2 separate regions of the Homo sapiens genome follow, and region 2 is linked to region 1. Evidence: promoter capture Hi-C in human tissues and cell types (Jung and others, 2019). All regions are on one chromosome and are shown on one strand. Each heading gives the region's core, a stretch centred on a gene start or on the middle of the fragment in contact. The rest is flanking DNA. Distances are from core to core; before and after follow the strand shown. Region 1 holds the start of BACE2 (beta-secretase 2). Region 2 overlaps BACE2 (beta-secretase 2).

Region 1 (2,700 bases), core at 170-2,669:
GTTAAAAATAAAAATAAACTATCTTCAAATAGTGCATTCAATTGAGCAAAGGACTTCAAATCCCACTTGGATTAGACAGTTTGAAAGTAGGAGGGGGCAGATCAATTGGGATTTTTTTTTTTTTTTTTTCAGATCACTGTGCTTGGGAACATTTGTTTCTTGCTACAAAAAGTGTTAGTAAATGAACATCAGAGTAAGAGAAAAGGAAAGCTGTTTGATTTTATTTTTGTGTTGTAATCGGGATACCACTTGGTCCCCGGACACCTCACTCAGCCCCTGTTTTTTTCCCGGTAGCTGGAATGCTTTTCACACTCTGCACACCCGCGTGTAGATGCATCGCTCCGTGCAGAGGGGCAGGGCCGCCGGATGAGCGAGGACACAGCTGACAAACCAACTCCGAGAAAGGAAAGCGGGCGCAGGGGAGACGCTGCTCCTTCCTCAGAGCAGCAAGCGAGCCACTTCTTAACCGGGTTGCTTTTAGCTGAGCTCATGCATAAATCCTTTTTAAAGGGTACTGCGCCTTTGGAAGCCGGCCACGAGCCTCTTTAGCAATGAGACAGCATGGTGGTGGGGTGGGGGGGGGGCGGGGGGGAGGGAGGGTATGAACACGAGGTGATTTTCCCCATAATAGCCCGTCGCCCAAGGCCCACCGCTCCGTCTCCCGCTGGAAGTAGGTGTCGCCCGCAAGAAGGAAATCACGTTATTGGAGGCGGCAAGTTCCAGGTCTCCTCTCCCGCCCAGCCCCGCGGAGGGGGAGCTCACAAGTTCTGAAACACTCGCGCACACCCCTCAGTGCGCCCCGGGCGGGGGCTGCCGTCCTCCGCGACTCAAGAGCGAGCGCCCCCGCTCCCCGGCCCACCCGAGCCCCTCTGCGTTCCCCGCTCTTCTGTGCGGGGACAGCTGCTGCTTTGGGGGCGACGCTAAGCCGCGTGGAGGCGTCTCTGGACAGCCCCCTCCCTCCAACGAGCCCGAAAAGCCCGCGGCAGCAGCCGGGGGTCCCTACCTTCTGCGGGGGGGTCCCGATCAGCATCTCCAGGTAGTAGCCGCGGCCAGAGTCCCCCTGCAGGTTGTCTACCATGGCCAAGAAGTTGGCGGCGCCCGCGGGGGACGCCAGGGCAGGCTCCAGGGCGAGCGCCAAGCCGTCGGCGTGGCGCTCGGCAGGGGTCCCGGGTCCCGGGGTGGGCGCAACTACGCGGTTCGTGGCCGCGGCCACCCGGAGGGGCAGCGTGAAGGGCGCGGGGGCCAGCTCCGGGGCGGCGCGCAGGAGCCACTGGGCCAGCAGAGGCAGCAGCAGCGCCCGGGCCAGTGCGCCCATGCCCACGGCGGGGCCCGGGGGGCGCGCCCAGCCTAGCCGGTCCCGTCCCGTCCGGCAGCCGCGGCTCAGCGACTCGGCCGGCGCGCGGGGCTGCGGGCAGGGATGGGCGCGCACCGGGACCGGCGGCGGCGGGGAGGACGGGAGGAGGGCCCAGGGGAGGAGGCTCGCGGGAGGGGAGGAGGCTCGCGGGAGGGGAGAAGGCGGAGGCCGGGGAGGCGGGCGCGGAGGCGCAGAGCCGCCCCAGCCCGCGCCGCCAAGTTGGGCAAGTTCTTCTCCGCTGCCCCCTCTGGCGGCCGCGACTGCCCCGCAGCGGCCCAGCCCCTCCCCCGCGGCCAAGGTCACAGCGGGGCTCGGGGGGCGCCGGGGTCCACCTGCGCCTGCCCTCCCCACCCTCGCCGGGCTCAGGCCGCGCCTCTTCCCCGGGAAACTCGAGTCCCGAATTTCCTCGGAAAGCGCCCCAGCGGCCACGGCCAACGGATGTGACGAGGCTCATCTGATACCGGGGGGAAAGTTTCGAGAACCCTTAAAGGGGCAGCGAGGGCCTGAACTAGGGCCCCGGCCCCGCGCGCTTGGGGGTCCGCGGGGGTCTATTCGCCCGGCAGTGGCGGGAGCTTCCGGGGGTGACTCGGAGGTCAGCGAGGAGAGCGGTGGATCGGGAAGGAGCCTGGAGCCTCGCGCGCCTTTCCGAGCCTGCGCCTCCCCTCGCCAAGCTCCTCCGCCTCATTTCAGTCGCCGGGTCTGGCTGCTTTCGAGGCGTTTCCCGTCCGCTGCCCCCGAGCCCCCGCCCTCAGTCCAGCCCGTTCCCCGGCCTCATCCCCCGGCGGCCCCTGGGTGGTTTTAAAGAGGTCTCAGTGGAGGCTGGGAGGGTGGAGGGTGGAAGGAGGCAGAGGAGGATGCGAGAGCTTTGGAGAATTTTCCCTAAAAATCGGGGGAGGTGGGGGGCGTGGCTGCTGCTGGCGCCTGGCCCCAGCCTCATTGCCCCCCCTTACTCCCTCTGTTGCCCACAGCTAGCTGCGAAGCTGGGCTTCACCCCAGCCACCTTCCCCCCACCCCCGCCCCCTTCGCCCCCTCCGCCGCGCCCCTGTCCCTAATGCAGGTCAGATGCTACTGGAACCCGCTGCCTCCCCTGGCACCCAGCCCTCAGGCCACCTAGTAAGTTGCTGTCAGGATCCCAAATCAGGGCCACGAGTCCACCCTGCTGTGATCCCTGCCCTTCTCCCCCACCTCCCCTTCTATCCCCAGCCAGCTCTCTGCGGACTGTCTAATTAATACTCGTTTAGCCATAGACGCCAAGACGCAGAAATGCGTTGAGTAATGCAAGCAACGAGGGTTATTTTATTTTAGATACTAAAGGCAGGGGGGACAATTAGACAAGCTAAAGTCCA
Region 2 (2,700 bases), core at 80-2,579, 38 kb before region 1:
ATTTTACCTACAAATTAGTTCTTCCTGCACATTTTCTAAAGAAGTGTGAATAAATTCTTATCAAAGGTGTAATGTCTTAGTTCTCAAGATGTTTCTGGAGTTTCACTAAATGTTCTCTTTTGCTCAAGAGTTGATGACAGCAATTGAAGACCCACTCCAAACCTGAACTTACAGAAAAAGAACATCGTTAACTTTACCCTAGTTACCAACATTCAAATTTTGTCACAATTTTAAATAAACATAAAAAAAGAAAGAGATAAGGCATATACGCCTGCTGCAGCATCAGGCAAGACTTTTAAGTTACTGCAATTTATAAGATGATTACTCCTTGCAATTATTCTAGATATTAACATTCATTTTTTCTAAAATGTGGTAAATACACATAACTTAAAATTTACCATCTTAGTTCTTTCTAAAGGTGAAGTTCAATGGCGTTAAGTACATTCACATTGTTGTGTAACCATCATCATCACCCACCTGAGGAACTCACTTCATTTTACAAAACTGAAACCCGTTACCCATTAAACAACTCCTCACTCTCCATTCCTGCGGACACCACCCTTAATGTTTCTGTCTCTATGAATTTGCCTTCTCCAGGAACCTCACATAAATGGAATCATCCAGTGCTTGTCCTTTTGTAACAGTCTTCTATCACATAGCATAAGGTCTTCAAGGTTCATCCATGTTATAGCATGTGCCAGAACCGTCTTCCTTTTTAAGGCTGAATAATATTCCATTATATGCTGTTATGACCTGATTGTTTGTATCCCCTGCCTTTTGTTGCAATCCTAATCCCCAAGGTGGTGCTATTAGGAGGCAGGGCCTTTGGGAGGTGATTAGGTCATGAGGATGGAGCCTCATGGATGGGATTAGTGCCCTTATAAAAAGGACGGAGGAGCTCTCACCCTCTTTCTGCCATCTGAAGATGCAATGAAGAGCAGGCAGTCTGCAGCCCAGAAGGTGGCCCTCGTTGGACCCTGACCATGCTGGCACCTGGACCTTGGGTTTCCAGTCTCCAGAACTAAGAGAAATACATTGACATTATTTATAAGCCACTCAGTCTAGGGTACTTTGTTAGGGCAGCCCAAACTAAAACATAAGTATAGACCAGAATTTTGTTTATCCATTCAACTGTCCACAGACACTTGTGTTGTTTCCACCTTTTGCTATTGTGAATGATGCTGCTGTGAACACAGGTGTGTGACTATCTCTTCAAGACCCTGCTTTCAGTTCTTTGGGGGAGATTCATTTTTTCAGTAAATATTTATTTCTAATAAATATTAAGTGAGCAGCTACTATGTGCCTGAGTCATAGAGATGAAGAAGATACAGTGTTCCCCATTGAATTCATGACCCGATGTTAAGACGGAAGACCAGGCTTCTCTTTCATAACAGTTTTCAATTCCTGTGGAATTGGCTTTTGCACTGGTGAGGGATGAAGTACAAGCAACTACAGACAATTCATGTGAGGTTTTCCACTCAAAATTTCATTTCTCCTCGGCCACCCAACACGCTTAAAAAAATTAGCCCTTCTGTTTATTATAATATTTTTCAAGGCAACAGAATAATTATACTATGTAAGACACAACAGAAGTAGGAAGGTAAATTTTCTAATGGGGAAGCGAATTGCCAACCACACAATCTGTTATTTTCAATCACGCACAAAGATGACGGAATAATAATCATATTGTATTTAAAACTGACCTGCTGAATGGCCTTGCAATTTTACCACATTTTAGCCAAATGAATCTTCATATCTAGAATAATTGCAAGGAGTAACCATCTTATAACTGGGGTAACTCAAATGTATCTCATCTATGAAAACACATTATAAAATATTGATTAAGGTTAAGGGCTTTGAAAGCAGAAAATGTGACTTAATTTCTAAGTGTTGAAAAGGTGCAAACACTTCTTAGCAACAATGACAATTGTATGTGAGTATGTTAATGATAATGACTGATAATCTACAAATCCTAGTACTCACCTGAATGTGGAATGCTGTGACCTAGCTTTACAATGAAATCTTCTTAAAATCTAAAATTTCATCTTCGTTTTACAGTAATCTTTTTGCATGGGATCTGATCAGCCCAAACTGAATGCGCAACACAGAAAAACCATTGTGTTCAATTTGCTACCCTTCGCTAATTTCAGGCCAGCCATTTAAGAAACAGGCTATTTCTATGTGGCTCATATAAGGCTTTGATGTTTTTTTCCATGGTAAACCCACAAGAAAAAAAAAGTATTTTAATAGGCATATAGTGATCAAAGATATTATTCTCTTCTAAAAAGACTTTCTTAAAGCCCTTCCAAGGGAATTTCTCACAAGAAAGCATTAAATCTCTATTGACTGACCTCTACATTTTTATGGTGTCCAGATATTTTGAAAGAATGCTAACCCAGAAGAGAAATGACAGATGCATCCCTCTTTGGCTTCTATGGCCAGCAAAATACAGACGTTTGCTTTAATTATGGTATAGAAAAGTCATAAAGAAATCTTTCAGAACATTCTAGAGACAGGAAAAATGAAGAAGACTTGGAGAAAAAAATTGCAACATATTAACCTTGGCAAAGTCTTCAACATACGTGTGACAGCCCTTGAACGTGAGTGTTAAATATGTTTGCTGGAGCAGCAGTGGAGACAGGTACCACCCATGGTCCTAGCTCCAGCCCCTCTCCGTGGGCACTGGACCACCCCACTCAG

Evidence for each region. The method cuts DNA at HindIII sites, captures the fragments that hold promoters and counts their contacts. A contact is called where the count stands out against the background at its distance.
Region 2: a fragment that was not itself captured here is called in contact with the fragment with the promoter of BACE2 in region 1 in 1 of the 25 tissues and cell types used here (pancreas).

What each region holds. Positions count from the first base shown.
Region 1 is chr21:41,166,879-41,169,578 of GRCh38, reverse strand. BACE2 (beta-secretase 2) reads right to left here and starts at 1,419. Exons shown (of 9, transcript NM_012105.5): 1 at 1,004-1,419. The coding sequence starts at 1,315. It overlaps MIR3197 (microRNA 3197), which reads right to left and starts at 2,022; the gene lies at 1,950-2,022. RefSeq lists a silencer at 1,411-1,860. The HindIII fragment of the contact is 5,609 bases long and covers 1-2,700 here.
Region 2 is chr21:41,204,476-41,207,175 of GRCh38, reverse strand. All of the region lies in intron 1 of BACE2 (beta-secretase 2), which reads right to left. Among named protein-coding and RNA genes, the nearest start is that of PLAC4, 21 kb to the right of the region's middle. The HindIII fragment of the contact is 8,136 bases long and covers 1-2,700 here.